Regions from separate parts of the Homo sapiens genome. Here region 1 is linked to region 2. The links are contacts of gene promoters, found by promoter capture Hi-C in human tissues and cell types (Jung and others, 2019). All regions are on one chromosome and are shown on one strand. Each heading gives the region's core, a stretch centred on a gene start or on the middle of the fragment in contact. The rest is flanking DNA. Distances are from core to core; before and after follow the strand shown. Region 1 overlaps SMC6 (structural maintenance of chromosomes 6). Region 2 holds the start of RAD51AP2 (RAD51 associated protein 2).

What was found. The method cuts DNA at HindIII sites, captures the fragments that hold promoters and counts their contacts. A contact is called where the count stands out against the background at its distance.
Region 1: a fragment that was not itself captured here is called in contact with the fragment with the promoter of RAD51AP2 in region 2 in 1 of the 25 tissues and cell types used here (aorta).

What each region holds. Positions count from the first base shown.
Region 1 is chr2:17,666,033-17,671,108 of GRCh38, forward strand. It overlaps SMC6 (structural maintenance of chromosomes 6), which reads right to left. Exons shown (of 28, transcript NM_001142286.2): 26 at 4,391-4,543; 27 at 388-485. Among named protein-coding and RNA genes, the nearest start is that of SMC6, 85 kb to the right of the region's middle. The HindIII fragment of the contact is 3,152 bases long and covers 2,061-5,076 here.
Region 2 is chr2:17,515,097-17,520,010 of GRCh38, forward strand. RAD51AP2 (RAD51 associated protein 2) reads right to left here and starts at 3,344. Exons shown (of 3, transcript NM_001099218.3): 1 at 73-3,344. The coding sequence starts at 3,319. RefSeq lists enhancers at 2,872-4,071, 3,056-3,605 and a silencer at 3,367-3,616. The HindIII fragment of the contact is 4,842 bases long and covers 245-4,914 here.

The sequences.
Region 1 (5,076 bases), core at 2,387-4,886, 150 kb after region 2:
ACAGCAGAGTAGAGCTCTTTGTTTAGAAAGATTGACATTTGTAAGTCACCAAGAGAAAAGAGGCAAGATTAGGGAAATCATAAATCATTTTAGTCCAAACAGAATTACTAAAATTATATTACTTTAGTTTGTCATGATAACTACAAAGAAGCAGACTCAAAACAGAATAGTAACAACTTGCTTCAGTTATGAAAGGGAAGTAATACAAGTAAAATTTTAAATATCTCAAAAAGAGAAAAACATCCCAAATCTCCTGAACCAGTAGGGGAGCTAATTTTTATTTTCATTGGTCTTGTATGTATTTGTATTTTAAAAATTAAAATTGTAAAAGATTTCTTTCCCCCTTTTATATACTTGATATGTATCTAGAAAGTTTTAAAAAGTTACCTCATGCTTTGAGGTGTGAGCAAGATAAACTGTCTAAAACGCTGGGAATCTGCCATCTTCAGTATCAAGTCCATGGCAATTCTCCTATTAACCATATCCTGAAAAACAAAGGCAAAAGTTAGGATTGCTATTGTGTAAGTCACATTTCTGTAAAAGCAGCATTCTGTGGGCTGATACAAGCTCCTGGATTTTCATCCAGGGATCAGTCATTACATTATCTATGATGTCCAAGAAATCTATTATACTGGAAAAGAAATACCAGAAACTATTAGGAGAAAATTGGCTGGGTGCAGTGGCTCATGTTTGTAATCCCAATGCTTTGAGAGGTGGAGGTCACAGGATCAATTGAGGTCAGGAGTTCGAGACCAGCCTGTGTATAATAGCGAGACCCTGTCTCTACCAAAAAAAAAAAAAAAGTTGGGCATGGTGGTGCATGCCTGTCATCCTAGCTACTCGGGAGGCCGAGGCAGGAGGATCACTTGAGCCCAGGAACTCAAGGGTATAGTAAGCTATGATCGCACCATTGTACTCTAGCCTGAATGACAGAGTGAAAGCCCATCTCTAAGGGAAAAAAGAGAAACTCTTCGGGGACAATAACTGAATAAATATGTCTTTCAGGTAATTTCTATAGTCAAAATATTTGTATACACAGCCCCCTCCCTCAAATACGTGTAGCAATTGAAATAATCAGAAAATATTCTCCTGACACAACTAAATGTTAGAGAATAAATCTAATTTGTACAGTAATGGTTAATGAGTCAGGGTAATGGTAACAAAAGTGGCTAGTCTCAAATTCATTAAGTCTCTCAAATTTTCCCTCAATGATAAAGGTTAAGTTTTAAAAAGTCTGCCTCTCCCCATTACCTCTACCATTTGTACAATATAAACCAATTTGAACTTACAGACCAATTTCTCAATTATATCTTTAAATAAGTTAAATAGCACATCAGGGTATAGACAAAGAATAATGCTTCGTTATAATAGGTTTTGGGATTAAATGGTCTAGACCTGTGGCTACATTTTCTGAGTTAAGTAACAGTAAAAGAAAATCAAAGTGTTCCTCAATTCCCTTGAAAATTCCTAAAAGTTGAAATCATTGACATATGAACATGTATATTTTAAAGGTCTTAATTTAATACTATATGTGGTGCCGGGCGCAGCAGCTCATGCCTTTAATCCCAGCACTTTGGGAGATTGAGGCAGGTGGATCACTTGAGGCCAGGAGCTCGAGATCAGCCTGGCCAATATGGCAAAACCCAGTCTCTACAAAAAATACAAAAATTAGCCGGGCATGGTGGTGCACACCTGTAATCCCAGCTACTCAGGTGGCTGAGTCACAAGGATCAATTGAATCCAGGAGGCGGAGGTCGCAGTGAGCTGAAATCACGCCACTGCACTCCAGCCTGGGTAACAGAACGAGACTGTGTCCTGAAAAAAATAAGTAAATAAATAAAAAATAAAACTGTATGTGGCAATACAGCATGGTGATTTAGAACAAGGGCTGTGGAGTCAAAATGGGATACACATCCTGGCTATATTGCTCAATGGCTCTGATTATAACAATTCCATCAGGCATATCTGCTGTGAGAGGCCTATTATTTTATAACAAAACTGCCAAAGTACCAAAAAAAAATTTGTTTTCCTTGGATTAGCTCACAGAACTTGGATACATTCTTCTGAATAATTTCATTGGGGCAAAGTGCCACTCTGATTAAGAAGCTCTAAGTTTCTGAAAGAGAAAGGAGCTGCTTAGAATTAAATCTGACATACAAGATGAGTGATAAGACTGCACAGCACCATTCTGGACAAAAACACTGCATGGAAAGAATAATCATCTTCTATGACTCGTGATTAGCTCTGAAGACAATTCTTGGAGGAATATCTAACCCATTTTCAGCAATAGTATCATAGAAAAAAATTGACACTGAACTATTATACAGCACTCACAGGTATAAATTCTGATTCACGAATACACACTTACTAAACGGTCATTATAGACTAGGCATTAGGAGACATAAACATCTCAGACATAGCTGATAACCTCAAAATGGTTACAATCTGGTAGGGGATTCAGATATAAAAATGGGCAACTGCAACAGAATAAAAAACAGTATAAAATATTATATAATAATATAAAGCATTTTTATATTTTTATCTTAAATAAAAGTATAAAAGTAATATATATTATGAGTTGATGTAAGGTGGTGCAAAGGAAGTTCTGAGAAGTTCCTCATCCTGCCTGATAGGGTATGGTGGTCACAGAAGTCTCATAAAAGTGGCATTTGAACAATGTCCTGAAAGATGAGTAGAGTGACATGTGATTAAGGAGGGCATACCAGGCAGAGGCACCATGTTTGGAGAATTACAAATAGCTTAGAACAGCTGAAAAAAGCAGGCAGGTACGATATCATGAAGGGTCTCAAAGCTACCCTACAGAATTAAACATTTATTCCATATATAATAACCTCCAAAGGGTTTTACATAGGTGAATGACCACCATCAGATCAACTGTAGAAATGTAAACCTGCCAAAATGGTGGAGGACGGACCGAAGAAGGAGCCACATGCAAGCCTGGGAGTCCGGAGAAGAGGCTATCACCACAGGTATGAGGCGAAGATAAGGGGATGAGAGGAAGAATATCAGTGAGAAAGGAGAAGAGGGCAGAGACCAAAGAGCGGTCTTAAAGGAGAAGCGGACAGAGGTCAGACTTGAACAAGGAAGAATCAAAGGTAAATCACAGATGTCAAAGGTAGGTGACTGCGCTGGAAATGACAGTTTGCATTAATCAAGGTAGGGAATTCAGGAAAAGAAAGAGGCTTTGAGATGAAGGCACTTTCAACCTCGGGGCTGCTGAATTTCAGATATTGGTGGTTTACCAGGTGATGTCTAATAGGTAGTAGGGCATCTGGGTCTAGAGTACAGGAGAGATGTCAGGATGTGGTGCTATGAGTTGATAGGTATCTGTCCATACGCAGGTAGTAGTTTTGGGGACTGTGATATGTGTATATTTGTAGGGGGAAGTAGGATATGGAATTCAGGAAAATCAACAACACTATAACAAGCAAACAAAGATCTCAAACGTTTAAGGGCAACAGAATTAGGGGAGGCAGCTTGGCAGATTAAGAACAAATAATAGAAAAACAGGAAAACCAGGAAAGAGAGGGTGGCAGCTGGTAAGAAGACATTTTAAGGGATGGAGGATAGGTCTGTGGTGTCAAATACTTCAAAAAATAAGGTAAGATTAAAGCTCATTTATAACCTTTGCTAAACAAGTTTTGCTAGAGTAGTGTCATCTACATCCAGATTACAGTAGATTGAGCAAACAATGAGATATGAAGAAGAAAATAATTGCTAATTTATGAGAACTTACTATATGCCTGAACCACAGTAAGTATAATGTATGAAAGACACCATTTGAGCCTCACTCTAACCATGAGAGGTAGGAATTGGTAATAATATTGTTTTGTAGATGAAGAAATTGAGACCCAATAAGTAGAGATATTTTGCCTGTCAGAGGTAGGTCTCAAATCCTATGCTTTTTAACTGGAAATTCAAAAGTTCTTGCTCGCTTATGTTCTGTACATTGTTCTGAAATGTGTGGGTATGAAGGAACAGTAAACAGTGGCTAGGGTGAGTCAAAGCCAGGGTGGTGAACAGGTTATAATTTTGTATTAAAACAAAAAGTCTGAACATATTTATGGGTTGATGAAAATAAGCTGGGAGAGAGGGTGAGGGAGAAAACGCAGATATGATGGAAGGCACGGATATCCATGCTGGGCGAGAAGAGGAGGACCCCTCCAGGGTCTCTAGGGTTACTGTGTGCCTAGAAGCAAGGGAGAGAACTCTAGTTCTTTAGTTCTTCCCCACTACTGGTCACAGACTAAAGAGTCAGGGCAGGATCTTTCCTGTTAGGGGTAAAACTAAAGAAAGATTTCCTTCCTTTAGAAATACATGTTTCAAACAAACAAAAAAATGAAAAAGAGAATTTAAAATTTAACAATACCATGTAGACATCAAATTCATCCAGGCATCTGAAAGGAGATTCTGCGATGGACCACAGGGAAAGAATAAAACACACTGTGGAGAAAGAACGTTCACCTCCAGACAAGGCTCTCATGTCATTGAAAGCAGCTTTATTTCCTTCTCCAGGCTGAACCTTGAAGAGAATGAGTTGACAAGGAACAAAAAACTAAGTAAATGAAAGGCCAGATTAAATTCTTTACAAGACAGATAAATAATAGATTTACAGTAAAAAGGAGATGGGAATAAAATGACTTAGTGATTTGGAAATACCCATTCCTTTCAAAAAATTTTACAGTAAAACAGTTATACGTATAATGGTACTTCTTGCTCTACTGCAAGAGAATAAAACTGAAAACCTTTTTCACCATAACTGAATCTAACAGACCAAAATTCCAAAGGCTAATTTAAAAAATGTTAATAAAACAATTTTTTTTCTGAAACAGGGTCTCGCTCTGTTGAACCAGGCTGGAGTGCAATGGTGTGATCTTGGCTCACTGCAACCTCTGTCTCCCAGGCTCAAGCAATCCTCCCACCTCAGCCTCCCAAGTAGTTGGGACCACAGGAGTATGCCACCACGGCCAGCTAATTTTTGTGTTTTTTTTTTTTTTCTGGGTGGAGTTGAGGTTTCTCCATGTTGCCCAGGCTGGTCTTGAACTCCTCGGTTCA
Region 2 (4,914 bases), core at 2,094-4,593:
CATTTGGCCTACACAGAAAAAAGCAGTAATTTTTCTAGCATGAGAAATAATGTTCTAAAATGAATTTCATACCTTTCTCAGAAGTAGAGTAAAGTAATTCTTCCTCTGATCTACTTGGATAACAACTCTCATTAGGAACTTCCTGTTCTCCATTATTGGGTACAGTTTTCCATTTAAATAAACTTTGGTGACTTTTGCCCATATTAGGACCTGCTATAGTATCATGGAACGAGGAAGATGCACGTATTTTGTTGACCACAACCATTTTCAAATCTTTTTCTATCTCCATTTTTACCTTCTCAGCATCATTTTCTCCAAAGTAATTTTCTTGCCCATTGTTTGTTTCCACAGTGCTTAGAAGTTCATTTTCCCTACTAATTTCATGAAACATACGAAGTTCTTCAAGTACTAAGTCAAATTTTCTCTTCATCTCAAAATCTTTTACTATTGTCAGAGCTTCTGTTGATAAATATTTAGCAGCTAAGTCCTGAAAACATTCATCATTCCCTTCACTCAGACCAGTTTCAAATTGATGATTAATATATAATGCAGAGTCATTCTTTCTGTGAAAATCCTTTGAATTAGCTATCTCCCTTTCTGGCAAAATACTCTCATATTCATTTGTATTTGTTACATAATTTTGATTAACATATTTATTTTCTTCCACATTTACTTCCTTACTTATTAATGAAACTGACTGTACAGAAAACATGTCATCCATTGGAAAAAAACTATCTTTCTCTTCCTTTTCTATCTTAGTATCTTTGTGAACTTGGCAACTATTTGTTAAACTTTCAGCTGTGACTTTTACTTCCTCTTTCAAAATTAAGTCATATTTTTTTTCTTCTATTTCACTTAGCAAGTTCCAAAAATTTAGTACTTGAGTTATAGAAGTGGTATGGGTCTCTTCATTATGTATTATGTTGTGGCTTGCTGGTATGGCCTGTTGCCTAACATTGCAGAGATCTTCAAATATGTGCTCACAGTCAAAGTTACTGATCTTATTATGTCCCTGTTTTCTTTCCATATTTAAATCTTGGCTGTGCATATTTACTTCATAAAAATTTTCATTAATGTATCCTCGGTTGTTCTGTATAAATTGAGGACAAGAATTACCATGTGCTTTAACAGTACTAGAATTATAGTGAGCCCAATTTTCCACATTCACAACTTGTTGAGGACAACTCATATTCTGACAAGTAATTTCTCTTATTAAAGAAATTTCATCCATGTCATCAAAGTCCATTAAAAGGGGAATTTTTTCATATGTTTCAAAAATCGGAAAACCTGTATTTTGAGTTGTCATACTGAAGGAATTAATGAGTTTTTTCTTAGACTTTTCAAAAACTTGTTCAGTTCTAAATAACTTCCTTTTCTTTAACATAGGTTTCATATTATCTTCTAATAGTCTTGAAGAAGTTAAAATCTTTACTAGATATGCAGTATGATTTTCCACTATATTTTTTGGATACTTCAAATAAAGCATGCACTTGAAAATGCATTCCTCTTCTAATTCAAAATCATTTTCAATTCTTGTTAAAGAGTCAAAGTTATTGAGCAAAAAAGCTATGTTAGTTTTCAATAGAATATCTAAAGGTTCTGAAACACTATCTTGTAAATATATGCTTAAAATTCCATTCTTTATATTTGTATTCATGTTTCTGGTTATTAGATTTTGAATACCAATTATACCAATTTGCTTTTTACACTTCAAAATGTTACAGCAGGTTAAAATACTATTATCTTTTTTATTTCCTGAAATACTTTTATGGAAATAAAAAATTTCTATAATGAAACTTTCAAAAGGGTTGTTCACATGAAAGACTTTTTGTGTAGTATTGTATCTCAACTGTAGAGTATTATCATTTTCTCCTTTACCATTTAGCCAAACAGTCGTTATTAAAGCTGTCTGACTACCTAATATTTCTCTTACGAGAAGCTTTGATTGTTCTTCATATGCATTGATGACTTTTGCACAGTGGTAATCTTCCTTGCTTAAAAGGTCTATTTCTAATAATAATAGCCAATTCCATTTTTCTTCAGTTTTTTTCATATTTTCACATTTAGTCTTGCAATTATTTATAATCCAACAATTTCCTCTATTTCTTCTCAAAATATGTCTAACGTTACAGTCCCAGTTTTGAGATTTTTCCAGCCTGGTAAGTACGTAACTGTCCAGACATTCTGCTTCCTCCCAATTTGCATTTTCTAGTATAGCGAAATTCTTTCTAGAGTCTCTTACATTACACTGGATACTACTGCAGTTACAGTAGTTTGAACTGATCAAGTCTTTTCTCTTACAAGTATTTTGGCTACTGAGTGATGGGTAGTCATTTTCATAACATTTGGAAAAAATGTTTTCCGCTTCTACAGTTTTTTTATCATTCTGTAACTTTTGCTTCTTAACATCAGGTCTATTTTGGGACCAGTAAATGTTTGTGAAATCCCTAACATATGCCTCTTTTTTGTCATTCTTTTTCTTCGCTATTTCCTTTAAATAGACAGAGGACATTTTGCTATTTAAGTCCATTGGAAACTGAGGGACACTTATTGTGCCGCTATCTCTAAAATAGCTAGGTTTGGCAATTTCCAAGCTGGGCTGGTTTTGAGATTTTGATATTTTTAGTACAGATGATGAAATGTTATTTTCTCTTTTATTTGATGGCACAACACTGTTAGCTTTACATCTGTTCTTAATTTCATGAAATGGTGATTTAGTTTCCTTGTAAAAGGTAACATCTAAAAATGGATTTTCTTTGTGAACATTGTCTCTTCCTTGGACAAACTGTTGTTTTCGATTCTCATTTCTAATTCCATGTATATCGTGTATAGAGGTGCTGGGCAGAAGTTGACTAACCCCTGCTTTGGAGCTATTACTGCGGTGCACACTGAAAGCCTCTCTGTCATGCAGGCCTGCCTCAGACCTTCCTGAAGCCCTCAAATCAGAATCAGGACTTTGTGAGGGGGGAGACTGCAAACAGCTACTCATTTGGAATTTGAGATTTGAGCATTTCAGATTACATATCTGCTTCCCACTGACTGATTTCTCCACACACGAGTCTGTGGAGTTATCGAAAATAGCATTCGTTGAAACAAGGAGTCCCTTGAAGGGTCTAGGGGACAACTCCCAGACTTTTTCCGCCTCAGACAAGCGAGGCACCAGAGGCAGTCGCCAGCCCGCCTTAAAGACACCTCCAGGCTCCTCAAGACAGAGCCGCTTGCTACTAGGTGGTTGGGAATCCGGGTCCTCAGGAGGCGTTAAAGAGGAGGTAGGCTTTCTGAGCTCGGCCATCCGCGGCGTGGGCTGAGGGAGAGACATGACAGCGAATGGAAAGGATCTGTCCGAGTCCCGGCGGGGCTCCAATCCCTTAATAGGCGGTTCCGGGCCGCTCTGGTCACGCCCCTGACCCGCCCCTCAAGACCTGGCCTTAGCCTAATCTCAGGGTTTGCCCCACCCCGAATCCGCCCCTCCACAGCCCCAGCCTCAGCCCCGCCCCGCCTCCCTCAGTCCCTCCTCTCCCTGCCCCCACCCACGCGCCCCGGTTGTCTCACCACTGAAGGTCGGAGCACCCTGGGCCGTTACATTGTCTATTTTTAGCGCCTTTTTCTAATGCCACGACTGTAGAGAGTCTAAATGCTTTTTTCCCTGTGGTAGAACGAAGGGGAAAAGTTAGAACCTCTCACTTAAAAAAAAAAAATTTGTGAATGGTAACAACTTTATTTTCTAAATTCTAAAATTTTGTTTACCTCAGAAACGGCATCTCCACAACGGCTCGAGTGACTCTCCAGTAAAATCGTGTAGTTCTGTCAGCACCAGACCAAATCTCTCTGTGTATGGAAAAACTTTTTAATCCTTCCAGCGTCACTTAAGATCATATTAATATTTCCACTTCACTAATAAAGTGTGTTTGGGGGAAAAAAGCCACCAGTACTTACCAGTCTATCTGAGGAAAAAATGTGTGGAAATTATTATCCGGATAATTATTATTCTTCACTTAAGACTAAAAAAAAAATAGTTTACTATGTGCTGTGGGGATTTCTTCTCAAATATTGTGGATAAAATTATTTAGAGATAAAATATTATATGTTTGAACTACCCCATTTAGTGTAAACATAATAATACAGGTCTGACTCATACCTACTAACAAATTTTTAGACGCTATTTCTTGTTTTTTTTTTTCCTGCTTTGAGAATCATTTATGATTTCCAGTCAATTCTGGTTTTTGTGAATTCTATAATCATTAAGAAGAAAATGTTTTTCAAAATGTTTATTATTATTATATACATGTTTCTTAAGAAACATGTAACTGGTGCTCAGTAATAAACACCTCGATTCCCTTGGTGGTTGTTTCAAGCTTGGTATGTTTTATATTACATTTTATGCTAAAATTTATAATAACTACAATAACATGCAACCAGAATCCTAACTTCAGAACCCTCCCATGGCATAGATGGCAATATATAACTAGCCTTCTACTTTAGGTAATAAGATGTTCACCAGTTTCATGTTTTTTAAATACTCTTAGATACATTGTGATTACTTCAGTGTAAATTCCTCTAGAGAAATGTTTACTTAAGTTTGTAGAAAGCCTTGCAGCAGAAGCACTTCATTAACACTATAAATAAGAATGTGGCAGTGGTTCAGATTCCACATCAGTGAATTCTCCAAGTTCTACTTCTGTGTATCTTATGTTCTATTGCTTTTCTATCCCAGATTTTCCACAAATCTATATTCTTTTCTAATCCATTCTGTTTTAGCCCATAAGGGGTGACTTGTATAGCTAAGGTGTATATAATTGGTGCGCTAGTGTGATATTAGGACCAAGACTTTTTAAATCTGTAAAGTAAATGCCATTGATTGTGATTTCTAGTCTAGATTGATCTGTAACTTGATATTTGATTATTTCTTCATCT